Linked DNA regions of Homo sapiens: region 2 is linked to region 1. The links are contacts of gene promoters, found by promoter capture Hi-C in human tissues and cell types (Jung and others, 2019). All regions are on one chromosome and are shown on one strand. Each heading gives the region's core, a stretch centred on a gene start or on the middle of the fragment in contact. The rest is flanking DNA. Distances are from core to core; before and after follow the strand shown.

Region 1 (6,292 bases), core at 1,022-3,521:
TTGGACCCTCCCTCAAGCCAACCAGTTGGGGATGGGATGGGGGTGGGTGGCAGGCCTCTCCCAACCCCTGTAACAGGCCTCCTAATCACCAAGGGGTTCCTTGAAGAGTTCCTGGGCTGGGTGAGGTGTGGAGAGACCTAATACATTCCATCTCATCAGCCACCCACAGGCAGGGCCAGAGGGTGCCACTGGTGCCTCCTCTCCCAGGTCAAATATTAACTATCTGGCCTTGGAAAGAGGGGAGGAATCAGGAACTGGCCAGAGGGATAACAGGAGCAATTATTCAAGAGGTAAAGGTCAGCACTGCAGGGGCAGAGCCCTGAGGGGTAGAGTCAAATATGAAAGGGAGAGAAGAGGATTCCCTGACCCTGAAAGGGCATAGGCTCCCTGTTTGGGATCTGGGACAGCAGGAAGCTTCAGGCAAGCCGGCCATGCCCCACCCCTCCCTGTGGAGGCACACCTGTTTACCTTTGGGACCTCCTATTTGCTCAGTGCAAAAGGCATGTGTGTGGGGAGCACTATGGCTAGGAGGAACATGCCCCAGGTTAGAGGAGCCACTCAGTGTGGTGCATGTCACACTTATAGTTTAAGAGTCACATGGGTGACTATTAGGAAGGTGATATACATGCACATGGGTGCACACACACACACACACACATGTTCACAAGGAGGACTGTGAACACGTGGATTCACAGGGGTCATTCACACATATACTCACAGGGAGTTTTGTGCACACATATGCTCATACAGAGGGCCACAGCCACAGGTAATCATACATATTCACATGTGACGTTGAATTTACATGCCCATCCATTCAGCAGGTCACACAGCCTCAGACATTGAGGAGAGATAAACCCACACATGTGGGTTTGTGTCAAGGACTGTGCACCTATTCAACAGGAGGGTCCTATACATACACATGTATGTGTAGGGACATGCACACAAACCCATTGATATAGTGGGCCAGGCAATCATGTTCACAGAAGGGTCAAGTACATGTGTGCTCACACGCAGTTCTTGAACACACAACTACATCCATGCAGAGACAAGCACACATGCATACAGGGGTCCAGTTTTTGCCATAGGCTTGGAGGCTGCCAGTGTCCACTGGGGTGAGATGCAGAGCAGAACCCTGCCTCTGTTCCTGAAAGTCCCAATTCTAAGGCCCAATTTCAAGTGTGTGTTTGTGTGTGGGGGTGGTGAGGGGGTTGTGTGTGTGTGTGTGTGTGGTGATGGGGGAGGCTTCTGACCTTGGATGGGCAGATGGGATGGGTGCATGAGTCAAGGCCGCTCTACAAGGGAGGGAATGGGAAAGTAACTCAGGCAGGAGGAGGCCCCTAGCTTCAGCAAAGATGGAATGGAACGCATAATTTAGTACTCCTCCACCCCTATGTATATTGCGGTTCTAAAGGTGGGAGACGGGCTGGAGCTCTCAGCCCCCACTTAACCTGTGGGAGGGGGCGGGGCTAAGTGGGCGGGGCGGAGCATATCACCCCTCCCTTCAGTGGCGAAGTACGGGTTTAAGGTCTCCAGTCCACGCCCCACACTCCACCCCAAGTTCCACAGTTCGGGTTCTTCCCCAGGGCCAGCCCCCTGAACTCTGATCACCTTTCCTCTATTAGATCTTGGGGTGGAGGGAACTGGGGAGGAGAGACCCTTCAAACAGGATCAATGGAGGATCAGCAGGCTCTCGACCTTCATCCCAGATGTCCACCTGCCTAGTGTAGGCGGTATTTCCCTCTGCCTAGTAGGATGGCGGTCTCTCCTGGCTTGAGAGAGCCCCTCCCCCGGGACCCCCTCCCTCCAACATCCTGGACAGTCCGCGGTCCTCTCCCTTCGTCAGGTCTAACCTCAGTCTCTACTGCTGCAGCTCGAGGACAAGCTCTCCTTCGATCCCGCCGGACGCCGGGAGACGTGACCCAGATCCTGGGGAACACTGTTCGCCACGCGGCCCCCTCCCCGCGCTGGTCCCCGACTCCGTGGTGGCCGGTTTGCACCCCGCGCAGCCCGAGGCCTGGCCCGCGCCCCTCTAGAGCCGTCATGCAGGACCGGGGGACTTGGTGGTGAGAAAGGCCTGGCCCAGCTTGGAGGGTAGAATGGACGTGGGGGAGGCCTTGCCCGACCCCCGGCCCGCAGCCCCAGGCTCACGCCAGGGCGCCGCCCGCACTCCTCGCCTTGCTCACCTTTGCGCTCGGATCCGGGGCCATAGAGACAGCGACGCGCGGCTCCGCGGCCCCACAGCACCAGCTGCGAGAGGAAGGGGCCGCGGCTGGAGGCGGGGCGGGGGGGGGGTGGTGGAGGCGGAGCCGGGGGTGGGGCGGGGTCCTGAAAGGCGGGGCCGACTGGGTGGGGTGAGGGGAAGGTCGCCACTCTCTTCTTTGCGCCCCCTACTCTAGCACAATAGAGGCGGTTTGAGGGCGAGGCTCACACACAGCCTTCGGCCATCGGGCGACCCCCCACCTCTAGGCGCTGCGGCCCTGAAATCGCCCCCTGGTGGTGGCCTCGCCACCCCGTGCACCCTCCACATGCTTATAGCCCGTCCTCTCCTCCGCTGTAACCCTAGGACCCCCCTGACTTGCCTACTGCTGGGGACGTGCAAACCTGTCCTGGCGTTGCGGGGTTGGGGGACCCTCTCGGAGGGCCTTCTGGCCTGTCCTCTAACCTGGACCTCACTCCCTGTGCTCCTGCCACCCGCTTCTGCTCTCGGCCTAGGGTGTGGAGGGAAGGCTACCCTAGGTGGCGACTGGACGTTAGGGAAGCTCTGAACACAAGGTAGGGGCTTGATTCCCAGCTTCAGGGGCTGTTCAGCTTGAGCTATGCGTGGGGGAGATGGGGTCAGGCCTGAAGGGGATAAAGTAACAGCCTGACCTGAAAGGCACACAGAAAATGCTTTTTCTGGATAAATAAGCCACAAGCGTTTGCACCTGTTCACTCACCAAATCTTAACCCTAACCTAGGCTCACCTCAGGGACTGGGTCATTCAAACACTTGCCTTCCCCTCCAGCTCATCTTGGGCACCATTCTTATCCAGAACTTAGAGTGCACCCTTCTAGGCAATCAAGTACCCTATCCTTCCCAGATTCAATCACCTTACCCAGCAGCAATCTAGGAAACCCCTCACAATCAACTCCCCAACTCCTTTAACTCAACTAGGATGGTCCTTCTGTGCAAACTTGGTTCCTGCCTCCTTTAATAGGTCACAGCCTATTAAAGTGAACTTAGCCCCTATAGTCCAAACAAAACCTGCATTCAGGCCCTGACCCAGCCTGGTCCTTCCTCCTCCATCCATGACAGTATTCATGTGGGCTCAAGAGATGGACCAAAATGATAAAGGCCACAGGAACATATGTGATTGACTCTTGCATGTGCCTAGGAGTCAGAACAGGATTCAAGTGGCACATTTAACTAAAGGAAACTTGGGAAAGGCTTCATCCTTCTTTCTGGATTCCCCAAAGCTCACAGTTTGGCACTGAATCATATACAATCTCGTAGTTTGGATGGCTGTGTGTGACTGCAGACTGCTAGACAGCAGGGCCCACATCACAGTTCCACCTCCCCCAACACTCTGCAAATAGGATGTGTGTGGCGGGGAGAGGGAAGGTAGCTGGGGAGAAACACAATAAAAAATGTACACACACTTTTACAAAGAATATCCTGCTTCATTTTTTATTTGTACCCTCATCCCATCCTGAGGAATTTATAGCCCCATTTTATGGATGGGGAAACAGGCTCTAAGACATTAAGTAACTTGCCTTGAAGTTCATTCTTGTGTTTATGGAGAGGACAATCAAGACTGGAAAAGTCTGAGAAGGAGGAAGCAGGGTAAGCCAGAAGGGGAAATACCATTGGCAAAGGTAGAAATGTTCAAGCTTATGCACAGGCTTGTGTTGGGGAACTAAGGAAGGGGCATGAAAGAGGGCAGTGAGTTTGATTTGATGAAATGGCTGGGGGGGGGGGGGGGGCGGGGAGGGGTTCCTAGTGGGAAATAAAAGGGAAAAGTCAGCTAGTAGTTTGAAAAAGACCACAGAAGAAAATCCTGAAAGAGATGATGGACTGAGTAAGGACGTCTGAGGTGGGAAGACCAGTCAAGGCAGGGCTAAGAAAGATAAATCTGCAGTCCTTATCAAAAAGTGGGTTGGTGGTAACAGTGGAGGCAGGGTAGGAAGACTGCTGGTCCTTCAGTAGCAGATAGGAGAGCAATTAAACTGTAGGGGCCCAGGGGGCTAAGAGGCACAGCTTCCCAAATGTTCACAGAACCTGCAGTGCTGACTTCAGATAGCTCTGGAGGTGGCGAGTAGGCCAGTGTGGTAGGCTCAGTATCACTCAACTTCACTTTATGAACCAAGCTTTGCTCCTCTGAGGTGCTGATGGCAAACTCAGACATTGTTAAATGAGCAAAATGTGTGATTTCAATGATCACTGGGCAGTTACTTCAGTACTTTTGATAGCAGACCACAATCCATTTCCTTCTGCTAGCCTCCCAGTAAAATCTCTAAACCTAATGAGAGTATCAGATGTAAAAGCAATTAATGGAGCTGCCCATAGGAAGCCCTTTTGATTGACAGTATGTCTCTCTGCAAATCCAGCTGGTAAAATAAGAACGGGGGAATACTGACAGACAGTGGAAAAGAAAACTGGAAATCAACTAAAGAAATTAACCCTAACCCAGCCATAAATCTGCATCCTGGGACACAGGCAGGTCATTCTTTGAACAGGCTGTCACTCATCCATAAGGTCACTACCCTGGCTGCTTCGCAGGGTGGCTGTGAGAGGATTCCATTTGGAAACCTTCTGGAGAACTTCACACACACAGAAAAGTATGAGTTTTGTTTTTGCTAGTCTATTTTCCCCAACTTTGCTGTAAGAAAGTGGCTGAGGGTAGTGCTGGCCGTCTTCAGCAGTGATTGTCAGCCACTTACACACCAGAGTTTAGCTCCACTTTGCACAGAACAGTTACTTACTGTAGCAGGGATCCTAGGTGAAGGGGGTGGGTATGAATTCCTGAAACTTGAGCAGGTTCCCTGAAGCAAGAGAACTCTGGCCTAGTCAAGTTGTCCTGCTTACTGTTCAATGTGGCAGCATTTCTGTTCCTGCTTTGCCATCTCCATCTCTGGTTTGCCCAGCACTTTCCCTTTAGGTGGTGTGGTCTTTATTTTGGCTATATATACAGCTGAGGTGCTTCTTCTGTAGGGGCTGTCACCAGTGCAACAATGCGGAAGTCTCACTATTCCACTGTGCCTCAGAAGCCTGTTTAGTTTTCCTCCCAGCCAGTCGTCTTGGAGTCAGACCCAAAGCTGGGCCTTCTGGTTTGCCCTCTCTTGACTCCAGCCTAGGGAATGGTTAGTAAGGGAAAGGGAGTGTCAGGACATTCCCACAAATGCTGGAAAACCACCACCCATCACCAATTTCTCAGCTTTAGCATGCTGGCTTTTAAAAAGTGAAAATTTTAATTAAAAAAAATCAGCAGAGATAGCTGGACAGAGAAGCTCCAGCTCCCGGTATCCAAAGAAATAGGGCACACTTACAACTATAATTTTTGGAGATATGGTTTGCTCAGATGTCAGTACACCCTGAGGTGTCTGCTTAAGATCAAATCTGTCATCAGAGAAACGCCTCGTTAGAGCAGCAAGCATTTGCTGAGTTCTTGCTATATGCCAGGCACTGTACTAGGCACTTTTCATGCATTAGCTCGCTTAGTCCTCACAAACCCTGAGGTAGACACCATTATTCAACAGATGAGGAAACAGTGAGTTTAAGTAATTTGGCAAAGATCAAAAGGCTAGTATGATGAATCTGGGATCTGAGGTCAGGCCTTGGGGCAAGGTCAAGGCCCTTAACTTGCATAAAGCTGTGCTGCCTGCCCTCTAGTAAGTACTTACGGCAATGTCTCTGCTTCTTCCTGGGCTGTCATCCCCTCATCCCTCCGCCCCACTGTCAGAGAAAAATGCTCCCATTTAGTCTCTTTCTAGCCAGCCTGTCAGAAGGCAGAAATACTGGCATGGTTTTGGAACTCAAGGCCTCTGACAATGCCAAGGCCTTCTATGAGCTCCAAAGTTCCTCCTATGAGGTTTCAACCTCTGCCTCCCAAGTTGGCATACCCAGATCTCTATCTGCTTGGCAGGTTGGAGGTGATCTCAAGCCCTGCTTCTGCATTGTACAGCTTCTTCTTTCTTGGTCCTGGGCTCAAGAACAAGGGAGTCAGGTTAAGGGTATTTGTTTCTAATTCTCTTTGCCCAAGAACAGAAAGTATTTTAACCTGGATACCAGGAGGTAAGATTCATGAGTTCTCTAT
Region 2 (6,292 bases), core at 1,318-3,817, 84 kb after region 1:
AGCTTTCTAAAAAATTTTCTTTGTAGACATAGGCTCTCACTATGTTGTCCAGGTTGGTCTTGAACCCCTGGCCTCAAACAATTCTCCCACCTTAGCCTTCCAAAGTGCTGGGATTACAAGTGTGAATCACCATGCCTGGCCAATTTTAGCTTTAAGGAAAGGTAGAAGCAGCCTTGGGGAGAAGGTCGCATGTTTGTGGGTGGAGCAGAGTCACTGAGCTCTCTGGAAGGGGCACCCCGGAACCGGCATAAGAAGGTCGGCAGAGGAGTGCATTCCTCGTTCAGGGGCCAGGTCAGGAGCCCCAACTAGGGGGCAGAGCAGACATAGCACAGCCTAGATTTGGGAGCCAGATTCAGACAGGAGCCTGGGTGGCATTGTTCTGAAAGCCGAGAACTCAATGAGACATGGCAATGGTGTTAACCGCTGTGGAGACAAGAGCGACTCCATCGCGGATGCTAACCCGCCATGTTAACTTATGAGTAGCCCCAGTCCTGAGTGCCTCCTGATTCCTACCTTGTTTGTCTCTAGTGTAAGAACAAAGCAACCCTGATGTTATCGCACAAATTATAGGCTATGACGCATGTAGCATTCTTGCCTCTTCCGGAGGGTTGCCTTGCATTGTCCTGCTGGAGTGTGTGCACCCTTTCTCTATGGTATATAAGCCATGGGTCTGGGGAGTAACAGTGCAGAAATCTACCTATCTTGCATCCATGCAAGACCATGCTTCTCTCTGTAAGTTCCCCCCAATAAAACACCCTTTACTGACAAATTGGATTTGTTTGCCTCGTTCTTTGTTTCTCAGCTCCTTCAGCATTTGGGGGCCACTTTGCACATATGGCCCTTTCCCAGAACAACCTCTATCTCAGGCTAAACTCCAAGCCCTAATGAATTGAGGAAGAATGAGGAGCAAGGGGTCAAAAACCTGTACCTTTTCTTCCTACCCTTCTTAGCCTCTTGTTCTTGCAACAAACTATTCTGGGTCTAGACTTGAATTATGCTGGGGAAGGAATCTGTGTTCCGTAAGTTGTCTGTTTCTCTGCCTTTGTAATTTACTTTTTTGGCGTTCCCCCCAGTTTCCTAGCGAAGTGCTTTTTGAACAATCTCAGCCTTGTCTGGACGCCTGAGATTTGCCCACATTTGGGCCGAGACAGCCAAGGGGTTCCAGGGCCCCTGGAAATTTAGCATGGTGGGGCCAGCAGCTGTCTCAGCTGGATTTGCAGGAAACAGCTGGTGGAGCCAGGGCAGAGAGAGGTGAAATCTCGAGAGAGGAAGAGATTGAGAAACAGAGAGAGATGGGAGCAGCTGCAGTTGCTAAGCTCTTCCAGCCTGGGTTCTTCCATTACAGAGGCCTGCCACCGTCTCCAGCTCTCCCCACACTGACTTTACTCAAAAAGACATAAACAAGTTAAAGTAGTGATGCCCCAGGGACTATAAACAGTGAGCATGGAGAGTATCTGATGGGGAATCAGACCTAGGGTTCTTACCTTAGAGCCTGGGTTGTGTTCACCTGCAAAGCTTAACAGCACCTGGGGTGTGATTCAGTTGGAGGGGGGATTATGCCCCAGACATTAGACCATGACTGTTTGGGGATAAGGTCCAATCAGAGAACATAGCATTCAATTGAAATAGCAGGGAATTGGAGGAATTTGGGCTCTCCTGTTAGTTTAGTAAACTGAGAGTCTCTCAAAGATTTGTGTATGGCTCTGGCCTGCGCCTGATAGAAGGCCCTCCCACAACCCGTACCTCCCTTACTCGGTGAGCCATGATTTTTCTTTTTACTTAAAGACCTGGAATTATGAAACAACCGGAGAAACACACGCATTCTTTGACTTATTGCTAGTTGGCCCTTTGGGAGGAATGGCTGAGGTTAGGAAGGTGCCAGAGTTACTCAGAAAGTTCTGGAGGGTACCTACTTCTAACCCACAAATACTTTGCAGACGCAGGCTTGGTTCCTGGGCAGCAGCGGTTAAATTGAAATCTTGATTCTCTTGGTAACTTGATGGCTTAGTTTAGGCCTCAGATTGCTGTTCCATGAACTGCCTTGAAATTTAATCACCCAAATTTATTTCCTAGAGTGTTTTTCACCATCTCCTCCTCTAGGCCCATTAGTCACCATCCCGTGACCTGACAGAGTGATTATTAAAGACCCTGTGGTTCCCTTTCACTAGATTTAGGGGTGTTGGTAACTCTGGAGGCAAGTTCTAACTTGGGTCACAGTTGGGTGGATTTTCCCTCAATTGGTTGTGAATCTTCCCTCAGGGCACCTGGAGGCCTGGGAGAATTACACTGTGTACCTGCCATTTCTTCTTTAAAGCTGGCGAGATGGTTACTGGTGTCTTCTAGGGCTGGTGTTTTCAGGCTAGGGGTTATATTATCCTTTGCCCCTGAGCGCATTACTGACATCTCCCAGCTTCAATTTCCCTTTTGGTAAAAGAGGGATAATGCCCATAAAAGATCGGTGCTGACTGGGCGCGGTGGCTCATGCCTATTATCCCAGCACTTTGGGAGACCGAGGCAGGTGGATCATGAAGTCAGGAAAGCGAGACCATCCTGGCTAACGCAGTGAAACCCTGTCTCTACTAAAAATACACACACACACAAAAAATAGCTGGGCGTGGTGGCGGGCCCCTGTAGTCCCAGCTACTTGGGAGGCTGAAGCAGGAGAATAGCGTGAACCCTGGAGGTGGAGCTTGTAGTGAGCCGAGATCGCGCCACTGCACTCCAGCCTAGGTGATAGAGCGAGACTCTGTCTCAAAAAAAAAAAAAGTCAGTGCTGAGCCTGGCACATCAGCATGCAACGAAATGTTAGCTCCCTTCCCTTCCAGCTGGTACTAGACCTGGGCCTTCCTTTGAGGATCTTGGAAGAGAAATTTTATTAGTCTGATTTAGAAGCATTCTTACAGAACTTTATTTCAAGAATAGTTCATAAATGTTTAACTCTCTCCCCCTTCCAACCTAGTCCTCTTCTAAATAGGGGCTGCAGACCAGGTGCAGTGGTTCTTGCCTGTAATCCCGACACTGGGAGCCTGAGGCAGGTGGATTGCTTGAGCCCAGGAGTTTGAGACCAACCTGGGCAATGTGGCAAAACTCCATCTCTACCAAAAACTACAAAAAAGTTAGCAAGACATGATGGCACGCGCCTATAACCCTAGCTACTCGGGAGGCTGAGGTGGGAGAATCACCTGAGCCAGGGATCTTGAGGCTGCAGTGAGCCATGATGGCATCACCACACTCCAGCCTAGGTGACCAAGCGAGATCTTGTCTCAAAAGAAAAAAAAATGTAAGACAGTGTCTCTCTCCTAGAAACAGTTGTTTCCAGGTGCGAATGAAAGCCAGAATGATCTTGCCTTTTTTTTTTTTTTTTTTTTTTTTTTTTTTTTTTTTTTTTTGAGACAGAGTCTCACTCTGTCGACAGGCTGGAGTGCAGTGGCACGATCTTGGCTCACTGCAACCTCTGCCTCCCGGGTTCAAGCGATTCTCCTGCCTCAGCCTCCTGAGTAGCTGGAACTATAGGCACATGCCACCATGCCCAGCTAATTTTTGTATTTTTAGTAGAGATGGGTTTTCACCATGTTAGCCAGGATGGTCTCAATCTCTTGACCTCGTGATCCACCCGCCTTGGGCTCCCAAAGTGCTGGGATTACAGGTGTGAGCCAGTACGCCCGGCTGATCTTGCCATTTTAAAAGAGAAGCCAGATACCAGCATGTATGATGAAAAGTCTCAAATTTTACATGTTTTCAATTAATTAAAAAATGTAAAATATTGGATAGGTAAAACACAGTATGGCTTCCCACTGGTTAGGATGGCAGTGGGAAGGCTTTGCCCTCGGCAGGCTCTGGATACAGTGTTCTTGTTTTTGTGGCCACCCCCTTCCCCACCCCAAGGGCTGGGCCTTCCTACTGTCTTCTTGGTTGGCCTCTCAAGGTAACTACGTGAGCCTTCTCCTCTCCTGCAGACATGTTGGGCCAGTTAAAGGTTATTCTGTAGAAATCTCAACCAACAAGTCAAAAGATGAGTTTCCTGCTCTTAATAGATAATTTTTATTGGTTTTGCAATAAACGTATGAAATAGAAACAATAGCAATAAACCAGCTCAACAAGAAATCGAAAGGCGCAGGCCCCCAAAGCCCTTCCCGCCTCTTGTTAATGAGTCTCTAATTTATAGACCGGCTTGCAGGCCCACTTTTCTTTTGCCAAGCTTTGCAAACTTTTCCATCTTGGAGGCCCAGGTACTCTGGGGGCTTCTGTGCTCATTTCCACATAGTGGTTGTAATGGAAGTGGTTGTCATGCCAGAAGTGGTGGGGTGGCACTGCCTTGGGGTTTGGGGCCTGAGCCCAACCTTGTCTCCTTAAGGGGACTTGAGGGTCTGTCCCCTTTGATTTTGTTTATCAATGGAGGGCAGAAAAGGAGAGTGACCAGGATAAAAACTCATGCTGAAATGGCCGAGGGCTGTAAGTTTAAATTTTGGAGAGCACAGAGGCCAGGGAGTGGGCACAAAAAGCATGCAGAGGCTGAGGGAAGGGGTTGCATCTTCTACACCCTTGAACTTCGTCTTTTGGAATGTGCAGACTATTTTTAGTTTGTGGTGCTGGGCCTTTTCTCAGGATCCAAATCGGCGTGCCCCACGCCTGCTAAGGGAGGTAGGGTGGGTGGGGGGCGATCCTGGTGTCACTGTAGACACTGATGAGACCTTGCAGCTGTTCTCAGTGGCAATTCAAGCAAGCTGGAGGCCCAGGGTCCCTGCCAGCGGGTGTTTACTTGCCGGGTTACTGGCAGTGTCAGATGAATGATAGCTAAAGTCAGAAGGGCTCAGTGCTCCATTTGAACATTTCCCCTGGGGCCTGTAGCCCAAAGAACAGGTTATCTGTGTTCCTGATCACGCCTCAAAGAAAGTGCAGGCCTCCTCCGGGCTCATGCTCTAACCGTGAGAGTGAGAAAAGAGGACCAAGCGGGGTTTCCGCGTCCACCTCTCCAGGGATTGGATGACCCAGAGTTTGGACGGGTGGCAACAACCCCGGCAGCCCATGGCAGGAGCCCCCAGAGGGCATTCACTTGGGATGCTGATGCTCTCATCCCTGGGGCCAGGTTGGCACTCCAACACCCCCCTTCTCACCCCTTCTGGCCATGCCCAGTGAGGGCAGAGCTGTGGGCCCATCTCTTCTAGAAATTCACAGCAGTGCCTCAGCTCTCTGTGGCTCTTCTCCTCACCCCATCTCCCCACTGCCCAGTGAGCTTGGGGGAAAAGACCGCTGACTTTGCAACCCACAGCCCCTGAAAGTCCCCTTCGATAGCATGCTGTTATGCTTCGAGGACACAGGACTGTGAACTCGAAATTGTCTCGCCTTTGTCACCTCCTGGCAGGTCTTTAGAGCTCGGGGAAACAGCCGAGTGGTACAAATCGCAGCGGCGTGGTAAAGCCCCCCTAATTCCCGATGGGCTGCCTGACTCATATCCGTTTCCCTGGCAAAAAATAAGTTTTTGTTATTGCTGGCTTGGCAGAAGCACGGAAGAGTGCGCGAGGATCTACTGCCCCATGCATCACTGGCCAAATTGCCTGAGAAATCCCAGCTCTAGAACTTTTCATCGTTGGCTGTGATGTACGGAGCAGAACGGCAGCTCCATTTCCCCCGCGTGGGGCTCAGCGACGCTGGCGCTTAGCAGACCTTCTCTGCTTGCAATTCACAGCAAATGTGGCCTCTCCTTTCTCTTCCCCTCTTCTTGGCCTCTTATCCCCCCAACAACCTTTATCTTTCCCATCCCCCCGTCTGCTCATCAACCCCCTCCCTGCTCTCCCCAGCAGAGCCATAGCTGGAGAATCAGGAGGAGGCCTGCAATGTCATTTCCCCATCACTCTGCAGACGATTCCACACTAATGTTCTTTTAATGCTGTGATGCTGCACTAATTAATAAGCATCCTGCACAGAGGCCTCGCCTCTCCTCTCCTCCCCTCTCCTCCTCTTCCCTCACTGCCCCTCCCCACCAGCCCCCCGAGAAGGCCTCGTCACATCCTGGCATCTGGCAGCAGAGAAAGGATTTCACTCTTGTACCTGGGCTGCCTGATATTGCTATGAGAGATAACTGTATACGAACCAATAATCTAGCCTGACAATCCAATTTACTGACCAATAGCGCACAATCCACCATGTCATCGGCTGTGGGGAGGCCCATAAATTAGTTCCTAGTAATTTATTCTGATCAATAGAATGGGCAAAGTCACTTGTCTCTTTAATCAAAGGCCCTCTCAGAGATGTCAGTGCAGGCAGCTGCGTGGGAGGGAGCAGGGCTCTGTGA

Evidence for each region. The method cuts DNA at HindIII sites, captures the fragments that hold promoters and counts their contacts. A contact is called where the count stands out against the background at its distance.
Region 2: a contact is called between a fragment that was not itself captured here and the fragment with the promoter of SEMA4G in region 1, in 2 of the 25 tissues and cell types used here (IMR-90 fibroblasts and spleen).

What each region holds. Positions count from the first base shown.
Region 1 is chr10:100,965,483-100,971,774 of GRCh38, reverse strand. SEMA4G (semaphorin 4G) reads right to left here and starts at 2,271. Exons shown (of 15, transcript NM_017893.4): 1 at 2,184-2,271. RefSeq lists silencers at 2,255-2,314, 5,649-5,943. The HindIII fragment of the contact is 9,481 bases long and covers 1-4,108 here.
Region 2 is chr10:100,882,113-100,888,404 of GRCh38, reverse strand. No RefSeq gene overlaps it. Among named protein-coding and RNA genes, the nearest start is that of SLF2, 28 kb to the left of the region's middle. The HindIII fragment of the contact is 5,759 bases long and covers 1-5,446 here.